2 separate regions of the Homo sapiens genome follow, and region 1 is linked to region 2. The links are contacts of gene promoters, found by promoter capture Hi-C in blood cells and fetal thymus (Javierre and others, 2016). All regions are on one chromosome and are shown on one strand. The core of a region is centred on a gene start or on the middle of the fragment in contact, and the rest is flanking DNA. Distances in the headings are between cores, read along the strand shown.

Evidence for each region. Contacts are between HindIII fragments. The CHiCAGO score rates a contact against its expected background, and 5 or more counts as called.
Region 1: the fragment with the promoter of SPATA18 here is called in contact with a fragment that was not itself captured in region 2 in 3 of 17 cell types (monocytes, M0 macrophages and total B cells); the score reaches 8.6 in monocytes.

What each region holds. Positions count from the first base shown.
Region 1 is chr4:52,047,172-52,052,854 of GRCh38, reverse strand. SPATA18 (spermatogenesis associated 18) reads right to left here and starts at 1,551. Exons shown (of 13, transcript NM_145263.4): 1 at 1,064-1,551. The coding sequence starts at 1,150. RefSeq lists enhancers at 759-1,108, 901-1,400, 1,401-1,902 and a silencer at 1,279-1,578. The HindIII fragment of the contact is 3,697 bases long and covers 1-1,966 here.
Region 2 is chr4:51,843,486-51,848,910 of GRCh38, reverse strand. All of the region lies in intron 1 of DCUN1D4 (defective in cullin neddylation 1 domain containing 4), which reads right to left. Among named protein-coding and RNA genes, the nearest start is that of DCUN1D4, 3.0 kb to the right of the region's middle. RefSeq lists silencers at 4,531-4,650, 5,201-5,280, 5,381-5,425. The HindIII fragment of the contact is 1,118 bases long and covers 3,502-4,619 here.

The DNA.
Region 1 (5,683 bases), core at 302-2,801, 210 kb before region 2:
CTCCACTTCAGGAGCACTGGTTAAAGGGTGAATGGGGAAGCCTAAGGACCTCATAACAGGCAGGATCTCAGAAACAAGCTAATCTAGGCTCAAAAACTTAAAATCTGAACAGGAAATTTACATATCATCTAGACCAATCTCTGCTATTTCACAGATGAGGTACTAAGACCAAGAGAAGTTAAATAATTTGACTCCGTCATTCAGCTAGTTCTATGCAGAGCCAAATGTAGAAACAAGGGGGGGCTAATTTCCGGTCCACAGTTCTTTTGCCTGGCCGCTCCACTTATTATGTAAGAGGGGAAATCCCTATTTAAGACGGACCGACCGAATGTAAAGCAAATTCAACACTCACCGTTCTATTTGGGGGAAGGGGGGAATTATGGGGAGGCAGGGTGCGAGTAGGGATTAATGAGATTTGAAAAGTGCTCATGGGTTTGGTGACAGAATACTGGCTTCTCACAAATGCCTGGAAAAAGGCCTGAATCCGCCCTGGTGTTGGAACTGTGCCTCAATTTCCAGGCCCACCAGCACGCAAGTGAAACCCGCAACGTTAACAAGTGTCCGTTTCGCTGATTTCTGGGTAAATAACTCCTGGGTGTGTGTTTATACAAATCCATTCTGATACAAACCCTGGGCAGGAGAGGGTTGTAGTAAAAAATAATTCGGGATTGGGGAAGCAGGCGGTGTGGATTGCGCTGGCAAGGGGGATGGGAAAGAGTGGCAGGCATGACCAGACCAGCCGCGGACAGCAGGGCTTCCCTATTGCTAGGTCGCCGGCGTCCTTAGTTACCACTGATTGGAAGCACTCTCCAGTCTCCGCAGCCTAGTGCTGCGCTCCGCAGGCCGCCTGCGCGCCGCCTCCCGAAGCTCTGAGACAAGGGCATGTACACACATGTCCTTCCTTCCCCAGCGATCCCGGTCGAAAGCTGAGATCCTGGTTAGGAATCGCAACCGCGGAGGCTTTGCAAAGTGGCCACCAACTCCAGCCCTAAGAAATCCCCGACAAGGGCTGTGCTGGAACCTATGGGAGGGCGAACCCCGGGGGTTTTTCACCCAGACTCACGTTGTACTCCTTCAGCCAGAAGTCTAGCTTTTCCTGCAACGTTCGTAAAGTTTCGTTTGAGACCAGTCTTTTCAGGTTTTCCGCCATCGCTCACTATTCCTCTCGGCCCCACGCTGCGCGATGGAGACTTGGGGGGACCAGGCGGTGGCCTCCGCAGGACCGTGGGGTGATATGGCGGGAAGGGTGTTCTCTTCTGGGGGGCTCAGAGCGCGGCAGGTGTTTCCATCCTCCCCCTCGGGTCGGACCTGGCCGGGTTCGGGAAGCCAGAGGGGAGGTGCCCTGGGCCGCAGCCGCCGCGCCTCATCCGCCGTCCCGCGCGGTCTCCTGGCTCCCCAGCAGCCGCCTGAGCCCGGCCATAGATACCCTGGCGATTATTAAACAAACCTTGACGTGGACGGGTTGGCTGCCAGGGACGCGCGCGGCCCGCGTCGTGGCAACGCCCGCGCCGCCCCGCCCTGGGTGACAGCCGCGCGCCCCAGGGGTGGACTGAGACGCGCAGCCGCGCGGGCTGGAGGGCAGCAGGGCGTCTACAGCATTCCTCCCCATTCGGGGTTCTGGGTGCCCACGCGTGTCCAGAAAAGCAGAAGTTAAGTCTCTATAGAAGTTTGGGGCTAGGCTCTCAGGAGATCACCTCTTTGGCCCCTTTATTCTTTCGCCTTTCATTCCTTTAATTCTTCATTTGTAGCGCCTTGGGTTTACCTGTATGAAACTTGTAACTAAAATTTCAGTACTTCTTACTTCTAGCTTTTACTTTGTTCCTTGACCCACTGGGTGGGTACCCAAGTTAATAGAGTTTAGCTCCAGGATGTTCACAAATTAAAGTTAATCCCTCAGGTTTGGATAAGATTTGGCAGTATGTATTTTAGTACTTTTTTTTTTAGAGTCATTGAGCACTCTAAAGCTTCATTTAATTCTGAATTCTCTAATTGGGACTTTCTTGACCTAGTTTGGCACTATTTCAAAAGTGTGTATTCTGCTACAGAAACAGGTTCAACTACTTAGGAAACCATTTCGACCATCTTTAAGCGCTTTCGAAGCAAGCTCTTTTATATACCATCAAAAAATGTGCTGATTATAAATCATTCCTATCCATTCATTAAAACAGCGGTGGGGAGCAGAGCCTCAGCTGGTTAGCTAGCTAGTTTAACTTAGTTTCATCTCTGTAGGTACTTGAAAATCTGTGAACACTGCATATATTCAAGTATTGTAAAATCAAGAATTTTCACCACCTCTCATTTTTTATTTCTCTTGATTACAGTGGCTTTACTATCTGCTAATGAAAATGAAAGGCTCAGTTTTGGAGCCTGTGTTCCTACTATTTTCTGTAGACCACAAAATAAGGACTATAGGGGTATAACATGTTATTTGATTGGAGTAGAATAATAATTTCTAATGTTAAAAATACCCACTCAACAAAACAGCTAAATATTCATTAAACAACTTCATATATATATATATATATATATATATATATATGTAAAATGAATTGAGAAAAACTTCAAATTTCTCAATTTGGACCTAATAATTACATATTTCTACAGGCATTTGGAATCTTTGAACAGTCCCATTTACTTATTCATAAAAACCCATATTGGAACATTTATGTCAGATAAATTAGAGGTAAAGGATTTTTCCTTGCTGTGAGCACCTTAATTAGCCTGTAATCCTTGGTTTCATCATCTGTAAAAGGAAAATAATTCTCTCATAGGATTATTATGAAACTTAGTAAGATAATTCATGTATTTAGTACAATGCTTGGCAAAATGCAGTAGCAATTGCTCTAGTAATTGCTGTTTATTAAATATAAACTAATACTGGCCTACATTTGCTATTATTAAGAATGTGGATTAGTATGTTTATATTTAATAAAGAAAACTAGTTGTAAACAATCTAAACCTCCAACAATAGGGTAATGGTTAAGCAAATAATGAAATGTTGCACACTAAAAATCTTGTTGTTGTAGAATATATACTATCTACAAATTTTCACTATAACGAAAAAGGCAGAACACTAAATTGTATACACTGTGTTAAATTACACAATGTGAACCCAAGGTATAATTGTGGGTTATTTTAATTGCTCTTTTATATTTTTCTGATTTTTTCAAGTTTCTATCATGAATATGAATTGTTTGTATGAAAACTTATTCAGAAAAAAGTTACCCCAAACAGTTACTAACATGGTTTGGCTGAGTCCTTGCCAAAATCTCATCTTGGATTCCACGTGTTGTGGGAGGGGTCCAGTGAGAGGTAATTGAACCATGGAGTCAGGTCTTTCCTGTACTATTCTCGTGATAGTGAGTAAGTCTCACAAGATCTGGTGGTTTTGAAAAAGGGAATTTTCCCTGCACAAGCTTGCTGCCGCCCATATAAGATGTTACTTGCTCCTCCTTGCCTCCCACCATGATTGTGAGGCCTCCCTCGCCATGTGGAACTGTAAGTCCATTCAACCTCTTTCTTTTGTAAATTGCCCCGTCTCAGCAGCTTGTAAACCAACTAATACAGTAAATTCTTATGGGGATTGCAGCGCCACTGAAAATATATCCAAAAATGTGGAGCACTTTAGGAACTGAGTAACTTTCTGGAACTGAGTAACAGGCAGAGGTTGGAACAGTTTGGAGGACTCTGAAGAAGACAGGAAAATGTAGGAACGTTTCGAACTCCCTAGAGTCTTGTCAAATGGCTTTGACCAAAATGCTGATAATGATATAGACTATGAAATCCAGGCTGAGGTGGATGGAAATGAGGAATTTGTTGGGAACTGGAGCAAAGGTGACTCTTTTTATGTTTTAGCAAAGAGACTGGCAGCATTTTGCCCCTGACCTAGAGATTTGTGGAACTTTGAACTTGAGAGAGATGATTTAGGTTATCTGGCAGAAGAAATTTCTAAGTAGCAAAGCATTCAAGAGGTGACTTGGGTGCTGTTAAAGGCATTCCATTTTGAAAGGGAAGCAGAGCATAAAAGTTCAGAAAATTTGCAGCCTGACAACGCAATATAAAAGAAAATCCCATTTTCAGAGGAGAAATTCAAGCGGGCTACAGAAATTTGCATAAGTAACAAGGAGCCAAATGTTAATCCCCAAGACAATGGTGAAAATATCTCCAGGGCATGTCTCCAGGGCAGCCTAGGGACTTGATGCCCTGCGTCCCAGCCACTCCAGCCATGGCTGAAAGGGGCCAATGTAGAGCTCTGGCCATGGCTTCAGAGAGTACAAGCCTCAAGCCTTGGGAGCTTTCATGTGGTATTGAGCCTGCAAGTACACAGAAGTCAAGAGTTGAGGTTTGGGAACCTCTGCCTAGATTTCAGAAGATGTATGGAAACACCTAGATGCCCAGGCAAAAGTTTGCTGCAGGGGTGGGGCCCTCATGGAGAACCTCTGCTAGGGCAGTGCAGAAGGTTAATGTGGGGTGTGAACCCCCACAAAGAGTCCCTACTGGGGTGCTGCCTAGTGGAGCTGTGAGAAGCCTCTGTCCTCCAGACCCTAGAATGGTATATCCACAGAAAGCTTGTACTGTGTGCCTGCAAAAGCCACAGACACTCAACACTGGCCTGTAAAGGCAGCCCAGAGGGAGGCTGTACCCTGCAAAGCCACAGGGGCAGAGCTGCCCAAGACCATGGGAACCCACCTCTTGCATCAGCATGACCTGGATGTGAGACATGGGCTCAAAGGAGATCATTTTGGAGCTTTAAGATTTGACTGGCCAGATGCGGTAACACACACCTGTAATCCCAGCACTTTGGGAGGCTGAGGTGGGTGGGTCACCTGAGGTCAGGAGTTTGAAACCAGCCTGGCCAACATGGCAAAACCCTGTCTCTACTTGAGCGTGGTGGCGGGTGCCTGTAATCCCAGCTACTCAGGAGGCTGAGGCAGGAGAATCACTTGAACCTGGGAGATGGAGGTTGCAGTGAGCTGAGATCACACCACTGCATTCCAGCCTGGGTGACAGAGCAAGACTCTGTCACCAAAAAAAATAAATAAATAAATAAATAAATAAATAAATAAATAAATAAATAAAATAAAAATAAAAAAATTTGACTATCCCACTGGATTTCAGACTTGCATGGGGCCTGTAGCCCCTTTGTTTTGGCCAATTTCTCCCATTTGGAATGGCTGTATTTACCCAATGCCTGTATCCCCATTGTATCTAGGAAGTAACTAACTTGCTTTTGATTTGATTTGATTTTTTTTTTTTATTATACTTTAAGTTCTAGGGTACATGTGCACAACGTGTAACTTGCTTTTGATTTTAAAGGCTCATAGGTGGAAGGGACTTGCCTTCTCTAGGATGAGACTTTGGACTTTGGACTGTGGACTTTTGAGTTAATGCTGAAATGAGTTAAGACTTTGGGGAACTGTTGGGAAGGCATGATTGCTTTTGAAATGTGAGAACATGAGATTTGGGAGGGGTCAGGGGGCAGAATGATATGGTTTGGCTGTGTTCCCACCCAAATCTCATCTTGAATTTCCACAGGTTGTGGGAGGGACCCAGTGGGAGGTAATTGAACCATGGAGGCAGGTCTTTCCTATGCTGTTCTCCTGATAGTGAATAAGTCTCCCAAGATCTGGTGTTTTTTAAAAAAGGAGAGTTTTCCTGCACAAGCTATCTCTGCCTGCTGCCA
Region 2 (5,425 bases), core at 2,811-5,310:
TAATGCTATTTGAAGAGGGCAGGGGTCTTTTTCATATCTAGTGTTTTTTTCAGTACATTAGTTACAAATGACAAGCCTATCTTCCTAGATTGAACATAACTCATTAACAGCATTTTCTGATTAAAAGCAATTCAAACCTGAAGTAGCAGATACTTTGCTACATCTAAAACTGTCACACAATGATTGTTAAAATACCTAATTCTATTTAGAATGCATTTCAATGTTTTCCTTCTTAAAACACATTTTAAAATACATGTTCTGCTTAGAATACTTCTCAAGAGGTACTTCTCCTAATGTAAATTTCAAAAGAAAAAAAGCAAGCTATGAGAAGAATTAATACCAATTCGAGTTGACCAACTATAAAAATTTACCAGCATTTATGTCAGATTCATCAAAGAAAATTTTACTCTGTAAATCTGAAGAAAGACTTTCAGTGATCTCACTATATTGTTAACTTAAGAAATAAATCCTTAGGACCAGAATATGGATATAAAACAAAAAGAAGGGAAAAGGACAAACACTCTAGGCCCCTTAACATCAGACCTGTTAATGCTGCCTTAACCTTGTGCAGGTAGGACGCTGACACGAGAGACCAGAAACGGACGTGTGCACATTCACAAACACTCCTTCTGTTCCCTCAGCACATCACCAGCATTTTACTCTTTCCTTGAGAATTTCTCCACGCCACATTCTCTAAAACTGATATCTGCATGTTTGAAAAATATTAAATTAGTTTGCATACAACTGACTTTGTCTAAAAAATGCAAAGAATGAGTAGGTGAAAGCTTGTGTTCCTTGAAGAAAAATCTAAAGATAATGAAAGACAACAGGAACAGGAAGAATTAATTTTTCTAGATAATGCACAAGTTATTCAATAGTTGATCATTTAAGTTCAATTCAATACATATTTGGGTAGCTATGCAAGGCATCATGCTAGATGCTAAAGTGGATACTGGGTAAGACATGGTCCCAGATCTCAAAAAGGTAATAATCTAATTGGGGAGGGGAAATAAAAGTAAACAAGCAGCTATTGTTATGTAACATAAAACTGAGTAACAGAAGGAAGCACTGCTTCAGAGATTCCATGAAAGGAGAGTCTGCTAGAGAGGGAGCACAGTAAAGAAAAATTCTAAAACAGCAGCACTGAGGGCAGCTGGAGCCGGGTGCAGTGGCGTGCATCTATAACTTCAGCTACTCAGAGACTGAGGTGGAAGGACCCCTGAAGCCCAGAGTTCGAGTCCAGCCTAGGCAACATAACAAGACCCAACCTCTAAAAAAAAAAAAACAAAAAAGAAAGAAAAATGTATTGCTGGTTATTATAACACTGTAAGAAAGGCTGTCTCAGACATAAGGCCATGGCAATAGGTATGGGAAAGAGAGGCTGGGCATGGGAAGAGATGCAATCTCTCCTTGCCACTGACCAGGGAAGAAGAGGATAAGAAATGTCCAGGATTTCAGTGTGGGTTATTAAAATTACTGCAGCTTCATTTACCAAATGAATAAAATTTATTAGTTTTGTTCTCTTCTTTGACTATTAAAAAGCTCAGTGCCAAATATTTCTAACATATGGCAAGTGTTTCTGTGTACCTTACAAGTCTATATATAAATTTTTCTTCTCTTGACAGGGTTTTATCTATATTTAGCAAGTCACCCCTAATTCTTTTAGAATAAGGCAGAAAATAAATCAACGTAAAGGTTGAGACCAAGCCAGAGACAGCTGGCCAAAGTAGCTGGTTCAGGGATATAACCTGCAAGTTGCCAACCCAGCGCATTCTTCTCACCCTTCTTCCACCCTACGAAAGGCCATATCTTACAAGAGATGCTGGTAAATGCCAGACATTCACTGTGTCAGGCTTCCTCACAGCTAGCAGTGGCATGAGATCAGTTCAATCCAATGACACTGAAATGGAACTCTCCAAAGTGAGTTTCTGCAAAAGACTTCTCTGTTAACAGGGAGTTATAAGGAAATATGCACCTTCCTTCCCTGCTTTCCAATCCAGGCATGATGTCTGGTGCTACGGCAACCATACTGCAAACATGAGGCAAATGAGCCTGAGGAATAAAAGCTAAAACACTAATAGAAGAAGAAAAAGATGCAGAACCTAGATCCTTAATGACATCATTAAGCCACTGCACCAGCTTTAGAACCAACTACTTCTAGGTTTCTTGCTACCGAACAATAATAAGCCCTATTATTTAAGCCATTAATTTGAGCATTGTATTGGCAAAGGCATCCTAACTGATACAAGAGATCATCATGAGGTCAGTTTCTCACAGGTTGATTTTTATACTGCTAAGTTAGCAGGATTATTAGCTATTAATTATTAGTTATAATTAGCAGATGATGATTGAGATAATAATGTAAACGTAGCCAGGAAGAAGGTAATAAGCCAAGAAGAGCTGCTGGGAGCAACTTAACATAAAAACAGAAAAGGAGACAATGATAAAGTTTGAAAAAACATGATTAAGTGCCAGTAGGGGTACACAGAGTTAACAACAGAGGAAGAAGAGAGTGAAGTCCACTAAGAGAAAATGAGGCAGGCCTTCTTTTCTGGCAATGTTACAGACAAGATTACCTAAAAATCCTTCTTAATATAAAACAGTCAAAAATTCTGGATAACGTGTAAGAAACATCTGTTTAAATGCACAGCTACGTTCACAAGAAAATAAAGGACCTCCCCAAGCGCCAAAAATCAAAAAGGAACCTAAAAACCAGAGCAGAAAGTGTGTAGGAGCCTAGGGCTTTGGGGAATGGAGGGAGGTGGGCTATATGTGTATAAAAAGCACCTGCCCTTTGGGATATAATAGAACAAAAGAAAAAGAGAAAGCTATGACTAGCTTCATATTTTCTTTAAAAACACCATTTTGAAGACAATTATAGCTCTTGCATGTTTTTCAACCTCATCACTTTACCCTCTGCAAGAAAAAATTCCAGAGTTAAGTGCACATTTTTGTACATATTTTTATATTACCAAGAGTTTCCTGGATATTTCACCACACGATTAAGTAAAATATGACAGATAGATATAAATGATCTCCACAAGAACACCACACACATTGCCCAATTTTTCACTCATCATGAAAAGAACCATCAAACAATCAAGTATCCAAGTTCAGTATGTTTGTAACCACACCAAAAGGTTTACAAATCTTAGGACTTCTTGGTAATATTTTTATCATCAGAAAAATTACAATATTCTTCTAATGACTATGTTGCAAGTAGTTTCATAATACCTTATATATTACATACAAAAATCTATCATCTCTGCATTAATCTTAGCCTTCTACATTACAGATTCTGGAGTCCCTTCCCTGTAAACAGTAAAGGGAACTGGTGAAGGATGTGACGTTTAGGGAGTCTACTTATGGAGAGGAAGGTTTCTAGTATTAAGGAGAGAAGGAATTGCAGCCTGCAGCTAATAATAAAACAAGCAAACAAAAAAAGTCTTATGGTTCTCCACTTTTTACAGTTTTCTTCTATTCTCATTTGCTTTCCAAGCTTCTTCGAAAATTGAAGACGTCACATATTACCTTTGCTCACCTTCACATTTCCACCCTAAATTCCACTAACCCACCTCCATCACTCATTTCAAGACAGTTATTTTTTCAAACACCCCAAGAAATACCAACACATAGTTTATATTATCGTTACAAGGGTTACGTGTACCTCCACTGTGTTCTCATATTTATGCAAGGGAATGCTGGAACCCAGTGCTTACACACACTGGATGCCAAAATTAAATACACCATTCTAAAGGCTGCTTTACATTGTGTTGCTTCTTAAATGTTTTCCCACAACCCGTGCGCATGATGGTACAAGACCAAGCATTTATTCCACAAGTAAGGCCACAAAATGCAGGGGGAAATTCACTTGGGGACCAAGAACCTAAGCGTGAAGAGGGCTGCGCCTGGCGTGGGCTCTCCCTCTCCCAAGGGAGAAGGGCTGGGGAGTCGCTCCGTCCCTGGGAACTCAACCGCCTCCCGAGAGCGCGCAGGAGCTGGCCGGGGAATAAAGCACGAGTTGGCCGAGCAGGAAGGCTCCAAGGGCGCGCTGCATGCCGGGACCCGTTTCCACAGTTACCCACGTGCACCCAACCCAACCGCGGCCGGGCGCGGCCGCGACTACAAGTCCCAGAATTCGGCGGGACCGCCTTTCCCCTTCATACCCGTTGACTGGAGACAAACCCTAAAGGAAACCCCTCAAGCGCCCTCCCAGCACGCCTGGGAGAAGTCGCGCCCCCCGGGCGTGGGGCGCGGCCTAGGGCCCGGCCATCCCTCTAAGGAAGCGGGTTCCATGGCACCAACCCCCACACCTGATAGCCAGAAATTAGACAACTGCGTCACAGACTATCAAACCCACGGACTGCCAGGGACCCCGACACCTCCCCGGCGCCAAGCCCCCGACCCGGCCATCAGGGCCCGACCCCTCCGGCTCCCGCTGCTGAAACCCCGCAGCCCGCACCCCTGCCCCGCCTCCTAGTCCCGCTGCCGGAGCCCGCGCCAGCGCTGACCTCGCTTCCCGCCGTCCGGGGGGAACCACGGCCAGTTCCAACCTTAGGGCACTTACCCCGTCTCCTCCACCTCAGCCCCGCCCCCTCCTCTCTCCGCACCCCGAAGCTTGGACTCCCCCCTTCAAGGGACCCTGCCTCGACAGGGAGAGGAAGTACCTCCCCTAAGCACAGTCTGACACCCCCTTAGCCCGGCTCCGGACCGAATCTGGACGTGACAGTCCTCCTGCCCAACTCCGCCCCACCTCCCCTTCCTCCCCGACTAGCTCCTCACCCCCATTTCATATTCTCCACCCCTGCCCCCACTCTGCCACCCCAAATCCTACCCACCTTTTTCTCCTCTTCCTCCCAATCGCCCTACCCTTCCACACCTGCCCCATCTCTTTACCCCAACATCTTCCACTCCCACCACTCTCCGTTACCCACCGCCCTTCCAACGCCCCTCCCGCCCCGCAGGACTCCCCAACTACCATTACACCCCAGTCCCTCCCACCACCTCGCTTTCCCGTTACATCAGCCCTCGTCCAGTCGCCCGCCCTCCTGCCCCGCTCGGCCGCTGCCCCCATTCCCCCACCCCATTGTTCGCCGCCCCCCCCCCACCCCCCCGCCAACCAGCCCTTCTTCCCATTGTCCCCGCCCCCGCGCCCCCCTCGCACTCACCCGCCTTTCTCACGGAGCCGCCCGCACCACTCAGCCCTTTGGAAATCCTCACCCTTGTGCCCCGCTCGCTCGCTCGCTCCCTCCCTCTCCCCGCCGGTGCCACCCCCCCACATCCCCGGCCCTGCCCGCTACAGCCCAACGCTGCCTCCACCTCCATGCACCCCGGACACTCCGATCTCGGCCCTTCATCGCACGTCCAGCCCTCCCTTCCCCCAACACTGAAAGAGAGCCAGTCCCCACCCCCCTCACCTCCGCCC